4 separate regions of the Homo sapiens genome follow, and all the other regions are linked to region 3. Evidence: promoter capture Hi-C in 16 types of primary human blood cells and fetal thymus (Javierre and others, 2016). All regions are on one chromosome and are shown on one strand. The core of a region is centred on a gene start or on the middle of the fragment in contact, and the rest is flanking DNA. Distances in the headings are between cores, read along the strand shown.

The links. Contacts are between HindIII fragments. The CHiCAGO score rates a contact against its expected background, and 5 or more counts as called.
Region 1: a fragment that was not itself captured here is called in contact with the fragment with the promoter of AP3B2 in region 3 in 10 of 17 cell types (total CD8 T cells, naive CD8 T cells, total B cells and 7 more); the score reaches 10.3 in total CD8 T cells.
Region 2: a contact is called between a fragment that was not itself captured here and the fragment with the promoter of AP3B2 in region 3, in 1 of 17 cell types (monocytes). The highest score is 5.8, in monocytes.
Region 4: a fragment that was not itself captured here is called in contact with the fragment with the promoter of AP3B2 in region 3 in 4 of 17 cell types (activated CD4 T cells, total CD4 T cells, monocytes and 1 more); the score reaches 6.1 in activated CD4 T cells.

What each region holds. Positions count from the first base shown.
Region 1 is chr15:83,072,407-83,075,106 of GRCh38, reverse strand. No RefSeq gene overlaps it. Among named protein-coding and RNA genes, the nearest start is that of MIR4515, 6.4 kb to the right of the region's middle. The HindIII fragment of the contact is 7,362 bases long and covers 1-2,700 here.
Region 2 is chr15:83,096,016-83,098,715 of GRCh38, reverse strand. LOC124903543 (a long non-coding RNA gene) reads left to right here. Exons shown (of 2, transcript XR_007064743.1): 2 at 1-2,700. Among named protein-coding and RNA genes, the nearest start is that of TM6SF1, 10 kb to the left of the region's middle. The HindIII fragment of the contact is 2,989 bases long and covers 1-2,700 here.
Region 3 is chr15:82,708,442-82,711,141 of GRCh38, reverse strand. It overlaps AP3B2 (adaptor related protein complex 3 subunit beta 2), which reads left to right and starts at 1,267. Exons shown (of 27, transcript NM_001278512.2): 1 at 1,267-1,548. The coding sequence starts at 1,436. It also overlaps the pseudogene LOC338963. RefSeq lists silencers at 1,214-1,263, 1,484-1,743. The HindIII fragment of the contact is 2,125 bases long and covers 669-2,700 here.
Region 4 is chr15:83,048,444-83,051,143 of GRCh38, reverse strand. BTBD1 (BTB domain containing 1) reads left to right here. Exons shown (of 8, transcript NM_025238.4): 3 at 966-1,071. All of the region lies in intron 1 of LOC124903542 (a long non-coding RNA gene), which reads right to left. Among named protein-coding and RNA genes, the nearest start is that of BTBD1, 17 kb to the left of the region's middle. The HindIII fragment of the contact is 2,213 bases long and covers 163-2,375 here.

The sequences.
Region 1 (2,700 bases), core at 41-2,540, 360 kb before region 3:
AGAGCCTGGCACCTCCTCCCCTCTCTCTTGCTTCTTCTCTCACCATGTGATCTGTACATGCCAGCTGCCCCCTTTGCCTTCCACCATGAGTAGAAGCAGCCTGCAAAACTGTGAGCCAAATAAACCTCTTTTCTTTATAAATTATGTAGCATCAGGTACTCCTTTATAGCATCACAAATGGACTAGGACAGAAAATTTGTACCAAGGGTCGGGGGTTACTAGGAAGATACCTGAAAATGTGGAAGTGGTTTTAAAACTGAGTAATGGGAAGATGTTGGAAGAGTTTGGAGGGCTCAGAAGAAGACAGGAAGACAAGGGAAAGTTTGAAACTTTGAGACTGGTTAAGTGGTTGTGGGCAAAATGCTGATAGAAACATGAACAATGAAGGCCAGGCTGATGAGGTCTCAGTTGGAAATGAGGCACTTATTGGGAACTGGAGCAAAGGTCACCCTTGTTAAACTATAGCAAATAACGTGGCTGCATTGTGTCCATGCACTAGGACTTTGTGGAAGGCTGAACTTCAGAGTGATGACCTAGGGTATCTGGTAGAAGAAATTTCTAAGCAGCAAAGCATCCAAGACATGGTGTGGCTACTTTTAACAGATTATGAGCAGATATAGGAGTCAAGGCATGATCTAAAATTGGAACTTAAAAGGGAAGCAGAGAGTAAAACTTTGGAAAATTCTCAGCCTGGCCATGTGGTACAGAAGGAAAGAACATTTTCAGGTGAGGAATCCAAGAGCACAGCTGAGCCACCACTTGTTAGAGAGATTATCACAGATAAAAGGGAGGCAGGTGCTCGGGCCAGGCGTGGTGGCTCACGCCTGTAATCTCAGCACTTTGGGAGGCCAAGGTGGGCAGATCACAAGGTCAGGAGTTCAAGACCAGCCTGGCCAACATGGTGAAACCCCGTCTCTACTAAAAATACAAAAATTAGCTGGGCATGGTGGCACATGCCTATAATCCCAGCTACTTGGTAGGCTGAGGCAAGAGAATAACCTGAACCCAGGAGGTGGAGGTTGCAGTGAGCCAAGACCATGCCACTGCACTCCAGCCTGGCAACAGAGCGAGACAGTCTTTAACAAAAAAAAAAAAAAAAAAAAAAAAAAAAAAAAAAAAAAAAAAAAAAAAAAGGGAGGCAGGTGCTAATAGTCAAGACAATGGAAAAAGTCCCTGAAGGCATTTCAGAAATCTTCAAGTCTGTCTCTCCCATCACAGGCCAGGGGTCTAGGAGGACAGAATGTTTTGGGGGCCAGGCCTGGGGTGCTGCTGCCCTGCAGCCACCTTTGGACTCTGCTTCCTACATTCCAGCCCTGGGTGCTGCTCAGGCTGCCTATCCAGAGGATGCAAGCCATAAGCCTTGGTGGCATCCACGTGGTGTTAAGTCTGCAGATATGCAGAATGCAAGAGTAGCAAAGGCTTACATTTCCTTGTAGTTTGATATATTTCATCAGTATGGAAATTTTCCAGCCAGTATTTTTTTCAAATGCTCTTCTGCCTCATTCTCTATCATCCTTCTATGACTCCATTATACATATGTTAGTCCTTTTCACTTTGTCTCATGATTAACAGAATTAACAGACATATGTTGTTTCCTATTTATTTATTTATTTTATTGAGACAGGATCTCATTCTGTTGCCCAGGCTGGAGTGCAGTGGCATGATCATGGCTCACTGCAGCCTCCACCTCCAGGGTTCAAGTGATTCTCCTGCATCAGCCAGCTGAGTATCTGGGATTACAGTTGGACACCACTATGCCCAGCTAATTTTTGTATTTTTTGTAAAGGTGGAGCTTTGCCATGTTGCCCAGGCTGGTCTCAAACTCCTGGCCTTAAGCAATCTGCCTGTCTTGGGCTCCTAAAGTGCTGGGATTACAGGTGTGAGCTGCTGTGCCTGGCCTGTTTTCTGTATTTTCTATGCTTTTTTCTCTCTGTGTTTCAATTTAAACATTTTCTACAGGCTTGTCTTCCAGTTACATTAATTCTCTGTTCTGCTATATCTAATTTTCTATTAAACACAAATTAGTTATTAATTTGTTATAGTACTTTTTCAGGTCAAGGATCTCCATTTGACCCTTCTGCACAGATTCCAATTCTCTGGTAAAATTCTTCATCTTTTTTCTATTTTTTTCATACAGTAATTATAGTTATTTTATTTATTATTATTATTATTATTATTATTTTTATTTTTTTTTTTTTTGAGATGGGATCTCGCTCTGTCAGGCCCAGGCTGGAGTGCAGTGGTGCAATCTTGGCTTACTGCGACCTCCGCCTCCCAGGTTCAAGCGATTCTCCCACCTCAGTCTCCCAAATAGCTGGGATTATAGGCACCCACTACCACGCCCAGCTAATTTTTTGTATTTTTAGTAGAGATAAGGTTTTACCATACCGGCCAGGCTGGTCTCAAACTCCCTACCTCAGGTGATCCACCTGCCCTCAGACTCCCAAAGTGCAATCATAGTTATTTTAAAGTCCTTGTCTGATAAATTCAATACCTGAATCCTATAGAACTGATTCCATTATCTTCTCTCTCTCTCCCTCTCTCTCATGTTTTCAATATGCCTCATAATTTTTAATTTTCTTGACAACATTGTAGATGAAAAAGTGTAGGACAACACATATGTCTTCAAACAGATCACCTTGAACCTGTCAAGGATTAGTTTTAAGCTATTGAATTTTGTTCTTACTAGTAAAGTATAAT
Region 2 (2,700 bases), core at 24-2,523, 390 kb before region 3:
ACACATACATGCACACACACATTTTTTTTTTTCTTTTAGAGACAGGGTCTTGCTATGTTTACCAGGCTGACCTTGATCTCTTGGGCTCAAGCAATGCTCCTATCTCAGCCTCCTGAGTATCTGGGACTACAAGTGTGCACCACCAATCTCAGCTCTGTTTTATTTTTTAAAGAAGAAAAAACACAGTACTTGAAAACAGGAAAGGGTTCTACTAGTGAACCAGAAAATGTGAAGGATACATAGAATATTGTGCTGTTACTTTGGGTGCCCCTAATAAACAGCATCTCTCCTACCACTTGACTGTGAACTTGGCTATGTAGTTTGTTTTGGCCAGTGAGACATTAGGAAATGTAAGCAGAGGCTTATAAAACTGCTTGTACATTAGGGTTTAATCCTCTTAGAATGCACCTTCTTGGAACCTAAGCCACCATGCTGTCAGGAAGCTCAACCAGCCATGTAGAAAGGCTAACATGGAGAAGAACTAAGGTCCCTGGCTGACAACCTGAATTGAGATCCCAGCCAGTAGGTATCACTAAAAATTAGCCATGGGAGGATGTCATGAACCTTTCAACACCAAATAAAGCAAAACAACTGCATAATCAACCCACATGAGAAATGATACTTTTTTAAATGTTTTAAGCCACTAAATTTTGGGGTGGTTATGCAGCAGTAGATAACTGAAAAATACAAAACAGCAATGGAGAAAGAATAGAGGATTAAGACTGAAGCACCAGAATTCTTCCTAGGGGAGATAGGTCCAAGCTCAGAATCAACAAATGCAAAGAGTAGACGGAGACTTTGGATGATCATTCAGGAACAGCACTGAGAATAGCTCAGATAGTCAGCTCTTACCCTCTTCTGTGCATGAACATGTAGTAACTAGAAGCAATGGCTTTCACACTCAAGATTAATCAGGAAAACTGCTTTTTAAAGAAAGTGGGCAAACTTCCTAAGGAGTGTTTTTTGTTGTTTTAGAGACAGGGTCTTGCTCTGTCACCCAGGCTGGAGTACAGTTGTGCAGTCATAGCTCACTGCAGCTTCAGATTTCTGAGTTGAAGTGATCCTCCCACTTCAGCCTCCAGGGTCTTGGACTACAGACTTGCACCACCACACCTGGCTAATTTTTTGTAGAGACGAGATCTTGTTATGTTGCCCAGGGTGGCTCATGGAGTGTTTGAAGCGGGGTATAGGGCTTGAGAATGAAGTAGACCCCAGTTTGAAATACTAAAGAGATCTACCCCTCAGTGGAGGGTAAAGCCCACTTGAACTACTGTGAATGTCTCTAACCTGACTGTTTGCTTCTCCTTCAGACAACCTAAAAGGGTTTCTATCTTTTGATAGGCCCCACCTACTTACAAAGAACCCTCAGATGATTCTGTCAGCCAAGGAAGGGGCCTAACAGTGACTTACACATCTCTGCAAAGACACTCATGGAAACTACCATACTAATGAACATAGTCCTTTATTCATCAACGTAAACAGAAAACCAAAGATTGCAAATATATTAGGAAAACCAACAGCATGGAAGAGAAGATCCAAGTTGGACCAATAGAAAAATTGACCTTGGAGGAAACAGAGATAATTTAGGAAAGAAAGATTTTATAAAAATTGTGGTCACTATCTTCAGAATAATTTGAGAAGATGCTGCATTCAAGAACTGAGAAGAGGTGGCTATGGGAAAGGAACAAGCAAAGAACAAGAAAAGATTCTTGGGAATTAAAAGTGGGATTGCAATAGGGAACACTCAATAAGTGCGCCAAATAATAAATTGGATGCAGCGAAAGACCAAGCAGTTGATCTGGAATCAAGGAATCTCAGAATGTAGAGCAAGAAAAACAAAGAGACAGCAAACATAAGAGAGTGCCAAGGACAGACACAGAGATCCAGCATCTGTCTGATTAGGAAAGAACAGAGAAAATGAAAGAGAGAGAATACCCAAAGAAGTCACAGAACAACATTTTCTTAAGCTCAAGAAATATGTGAGTCTTTAAGACTGAAAGTGTTCACTGAACAAAATTAAGGTAAAAGGGTTAAACTCTTAGGCATGGTGGCTCATGCCTATAATCCCAGCACTTTGGGAGGCTAAGGCAGGAGGATCACTTGAGCCCAGAATTTCAAGACTAGCCTGGGCAATATGGTGAGACCCCATCTGTACAAAAAATTTAAAAATTAGCCAGGCGTGATGTCGCACACCTGTAGTCCCAGTTACTCAGAAGGCTGAGGTGGGAGGATCACTCAAATCTGGGAGGTGGAGGCTGCAGTGAACTATGATTGCACCACTGCACTCCAGCCTGGGGCAACACAGTGAGACCCTGCCTCAATAAAAAGAAAAAAATAAGATTAAACCTCCCTCACTAGCATTCTCAGTTCTCCTTACTCTATTTATTCCTTTTTTTGATAGCACTATATAATACTAGCACACTACATAATTGTCTTATGCATTATGCATATTATTTATGACCTGTCTCCCCTGCTAGAATGTAAGTTCCAGGAGGGCAGGAATCTTTGATTTGTTCCCTAATGAAGCCCAGCACCTTGAACAGTGCCTTGCACCCTGGAGCCATCAGTAAAGATACGTCAAATTGAATTAAAATCCAGACACATCTTGGTACAATTTCACAACTCCAAATATAAATGGGAAATCTTAAAATCTTGGGGATTTCCTAGAAAGAAAAAGAAACAGAACTTTCACCTGACATG
Region 3 (2,700 bases), core at 18-2,517:
CCTGAGCAGACTAGCCAAAGCGCCTTATAAACGCGCAACTGCAAAATCCAGGCCCTTCTCTTCCCACTCCCCACCCAGGCCAGTTTTCTCCAAATTCAAGATCCACTTTTCTCTGGCAGGCACAAAGCCACCGGAACCAAGCGGACCCACCCACTTGTCTAGGTTATCCCAACAGAACCTTCTCATTACCCCAATAGAACCTTACCCCAGTAGAATTACCCCCAATAGAACTTTTCTACTGAGCCAAGCTCCACCTTTCTGGGCCCCACTCCTTCCCAGGTAGGCCCGCCAATTCTGCCCATGGAGACTTCGGGATGCTAGTTACAGACCAAGACTCAGGCCTTAGGAACTCCTCCAGTCCCCATGCCCAGCTAAAAGACTCCAGCCACCTCAACTGATGCCCAACTGGATCCTACCTCTTCCCCCAGCCCAATTCACTACTTTCCATCGGATCCAAGCCTTCCTTCCTTGGGCCTAGGGGTCACTCGGGCTCGGGAGCTGAACTGGAGGGCTCACATGACTCAGGAGCCCTGGTGGTCACACCAGACCCTTCTCTTCCTTTTCAGGTGTCAATGGACGTGGACGTGTCCCCGGATTAAGCATGACCTTGGCCCTCCTGGGTGGACGTGGAGGCTTCAGAAAGATTCATTAAACTACTTTCCAAAGCTTAATTAGATGTTCACCGTCCTCTGTATCCTGTTTCCCATCTCTCTAAGCCCCCAAGGGCTCCTCGGAGCTCCCTGACCTTAATTCCTTAAATTCCGCCACCTCCAGGAAGCTCCTCGGCTTCCTGCTGCCAAGCCAGATTTTGTAGGAAAGGTGGGGCGGGAAAGGGAGCGTCCTTAGGTATCTGAGGCCGGTCCTCGGGTGCGGTGACCCCTTCCCGCTCTAGAACCCCCAGCCTGCGGGCACAGCCTTCTTTCCAGTTCCCGCTTTCCCTCCACGGCGTGGGTGAGCATCCGCGCGTGCGTCTGGGGAGAGCGGAGCCCCAGAGGCCCGTCCCGCCGAGGCCAGGTGGTCGGGGGTGGGGGCAGCTATTCCACATCCCCTGCAAGACGGTCCCAGCGTCCGTCCAGCAGACTCGCCCACCTTTAGATCTGGAGACGAGCCAAGTCGCTTTAAAGGGCAGAAGACGCCCTGAAGAGGGCATTTCCTAGGGATGGGCGGGGCCAGGCCCTGACGCACCGCCCCTGTCGCCTCCTCGCGGACACGCCCTCCGCTCGGCTGGCGCCGGTGCCTTTAAGACCTCAGCGCGCGGCCCTGATTGAGAAATCCGCGCGCAGCCTCCGCCGCTGCACACTGCAGCCTCTGCTGAACCCCTGCCGCGCCGCCGCCTTCGCCAGCCCGGACCGGACCGGCCCGCCTTCCCTTCCTCCGCTCCAGCCGGCCTCCGGCCCCGCAACCTCCTCCTCGGCGAAGTCTCCCTGGCCGCCCCATGTCGGCCGCCCCCGCCTACAGCGAAGACAAGGGCGGCTCCGCTGGCCCCGGGGAGCCCGAGTACGGCCACGACCCCGCGAGCGGCGGCATCTTCTCCTCCGACTACAAGCGGTGAGGGAGCCCGCCAGGAAGCTCGCGGGAGGGTTGGGGCCGGGGACCGGGCGAGGCGCGCGGGCACCATGGACAGCGCCCGGCCCCAGCGCCGGCCCCGCCCCGGCCGCGCCGACCGGAAGCCCGCCCGGCCCCCTCCTGCGGCCTGGAGCCCCGGCCCAGCGCGGGCAGCGCTGGCACCCCGGCTCCAGGGGCCGGCCTAGGACGCGGAGGGGGGCAGATAGGGGCTGGCGGGGGATGGGCCAGCTCAGTTTCGAGAGGAGAAACCCTCCGGTTCCAGGTGTTTCTCCGGTTTGCGGCGTTGCGTTAGGGGTTCCCTTCCTTTTTCGTGCTAGGCGGGTTGGCTTCCCAAAAATGTGGGGGAGGGGTCTGAGTCAGCGAACTTGAGCTTGAGCCTGGGGCCTCTTCAGGAAGGCGGGCCCTGGATGTACTTGCACAGCCTCCCAGCTTGGCCCTGCTGCAAATTCATTTCCCCTCCCTCTGGTCCCCATCTCCATCTGACCCTCACATCCCTGCTCCTGGCATTGCCCCTGTAGTTCAGCTCCACCTTCACACCCTCCCCCACCTTTGATTCGTTCGTTTGTTTCTTCATTTGTTTATTCGTAAATTCTGCAACAAGCATTTATGAAAAGCCAACTGTGTCGAGTCCTGAACTAGTCACGGAATACAACTGTGAACATGAGACCCTTCTTGTCCTCACGATGCTCTAGAGGGGAGCACAGATGAAGAAGCAGTCAGGGACAGTCGAGTGTAATGGGGGCAGTGGGAGCAGGGAGAGGACCTAGTCTCTGGCGCCGGAGAGAAGGAAGACAGGAGCGTGAGGTATGTTCCAGGCAGAGGAAAGGGCTTTCAGGAAGGTTGAGAGCCAGGCCACAATCTGTGTGAGCCACTGGACTGACCAGAAAAGAGGGTGGGGAGGACTCCTGAAGGATTCTAAGCAGGCGACATAATCAGATTTATATTTTAGAAGGACGTCAGGCTGCTGCATTGTGGAGAAGAGATTGGAGGTGGGCCAGATTGAACAAGAGACAAGGGAGGTGGGTCTTGAAGTTCACAGGCCTGGCATGATTGTGGCCTAGACCAGGGGAGAGGCAGAAGATTTGAGGCTGTGGAAGAGGTGGAAGCCTCAGACCTGATGATTAATTGGATATT
Region 4 (2,700 bases), core at 20-2,519, 340 kb before region 3:
GGTCATTGGCATGCCTATCATCATACCTCCTTTTTCAGTGTTTCAGCTTTTTAAAAATCTTGCTTGAGTTTAACTTGGACTCCCCCTGCTTATAAACTGTTTTTTTTTTTTTTGTGGGGGAGGGTTATAACATATGTATTGATAAAGCACATATTGTAAGCTTGACTTCTAACATCTTAAAGCCAAAATTAGTTCTTCTGGAATTCTACAGTACATATTCTTGCTCATTATATATTCTGGCTTTTTTGCTCATCATTAGGTTTGTGTGGTTCATTTATATTGGTTTGTGTAGTTGTAGATTGTTCATTCTCATTGTTGTATAATATTCCGTCATGTGAATTTTATGTATTTGTTCTTGTGTTGTTAGACCTAATTTTGCTTAGGTTTCCAGAGCTGTCATGCTCTAAAATTCTAGTACCCTATTCTCTCCTCAAAATCAAAACAGGCAATGGAAGAGAAAATCTGATATTTGCACTGTTGTGCTTGACAATTGATATTATAATTAGTGAAAAGACTATAAGATTTAAGTACTAGCTGTGCAACATACTTAACTAGATGATCTTAGGCAAGTCACTGTACCTCTCCAAACCTCTGAAAATGGGATAATAATGTAAGCCTTATCTAACATAAAGGGTTCATTAAGGATCAGAATAAGTAATGTATAAGAATATAGGCTGTACACACACACACACACACACACACACACACACACAAGCACATAAAAATAACAGGATTGGTATTGGTAATGTCAATTTGTTCTTAGCAGGGCATTTGTATTTTTAGCTTTTCATTTCTGATTGTAGAATGAAAAGTTTTAAGAATATGTAGACATTATTGCGTGTATTTTAAGTAGATATTTTTACATAATTAGCAATTATAACTGTTGACAATATTAATTTCAAATATGTACAGTCTGAAGGTAAAATAACTATGAAAGTTAAATAACTATCTCTTTATATGTTTAGGCTCGATTATTTGATGAACCTCAGCTTGCTAGTCTTTGTCTAGATACAATAGACAAAAGCACAATGGATGCAATAAGTGCAGAAGGGTTTACTGATATTGATATAGGTAAGTTCGCTATGAAGTAAATTGTTACATTTTAAGTACAGTTAATGCCTTACTTGTCAGCCTTGTTGGAGAAGGGGCTATTTTTAAATCAGTGGCTTTCCCAAATGATTGAAGTCTCTCTAAGAGTTTTGCTTTTTTTTGTTTTGGTGAAAATATTTCTAAAAGTCTTAACTAGCTCATTGCCTGTTAAAAGATTTCAAATCAAATAAATATTCATTGAATGCCCATCATATGCATGGCATTATTCTAGGGTCCATAGGAAATATAAAAAATAGTAAGAGATGAGTTGTCTTGTTAAGGAAACGTCTAATTGGAGAATCAAAGAACAAATATTTGAAAATTAAGATTTAAAACGCTAATAGAAGAGAGGGCATTAATACCTGGGTGATGAAATAGTCGGTACAGCAAACCCCGATGACACAAGTTTACCTCTGTGACAAACCTGCACATGTACCCCTGAACTTAAAATAAAAATTAAAAAAAAAGAGAGGACATATGGTAAAATGTGATTTCTATCTTTTCTAAATTAGATATGTAGAAAGTAATTACTATGCAAATCCGGAAAATGGTGCGATTACTTCAAATTGCAGTAGTGTTAGGAAAATTTTGACAGAGGAGGTTCTGATATGAGCCTTAAAGAATGGATAGCACAGTAGGTCCTTGAATAATGTCGTTTCATTATAATGTTGATAAGAAAAAAATGGACGCCTGGCGGGGGCCACGATCTGTAGGGTTTACATGTTCTCCTGTATCTTCGTGGTTTTCTCCAGGCACTCTAGTTTCCTCTCACATCCCAAAGATGTGCATTTAGGTTCTTTGGTGTGTCGAAATGGCCTCAGTCTGAATGAGAGTGTGTGTGAGTGTGCCCTGTGATGAAATGATGTACTGTGTGGGATTGGTTCCTGCCTATACCAAGCCACTGGGATAAGCTCTGGCCACCTGAGACTCTGAACTGGAATAAGTGGATTGGAAAATGATTTATCAAGTAAAAATTTGTAAAGTATATGATAATCATACAAATGTTTGATGATAAATGACATAGTATGAAAGCGCTCGGCAAGTCCACTATGTTATTTGCTTTTGAACTGCGTTGTGTGGGAGGTCCTCCTCAAAATTTTCACTTTGTAAACGTTTATTCCTGGATTTAACCCACCACCACTATGACCACTGTCACTCACTGATTCACCAAAAATTGGGTAAATGATTCTCTTTCTTGTCTGTATTAATCTTTCTTAAATGTATGTATAGCTCACATTTATTTCACTGTTCAATTTAGAAGTGCTTTGAGTCTTTATTTAGAAGCTTGGTGGTATTTTTGTGACCAGAAATATGCCATAGGAACTTAACTCTTGTTTCTATCAGTTAGCTCATGGTAAAATTGCTTTCGTTAGACACTTTCATTTGAAGTCACAGTTTCCAAGAACCCATACGTTGAGGACTTACTGTGTTTGGATAGTGGAGAGGGGAGGGCATTAGCGGCAAGTGGAACCTCAGGAAGAAGTGTATAAGAGGAAGGAGGTGCAAAGCAGGTTAAAGCCAGGTGATAGAGGACCATCTAATGATAGGCTAACAATGTACCTTTTGTCTTGTAGGAGAGTAGAGAGATCTAATCCAGGCCCGTGGCTTTAA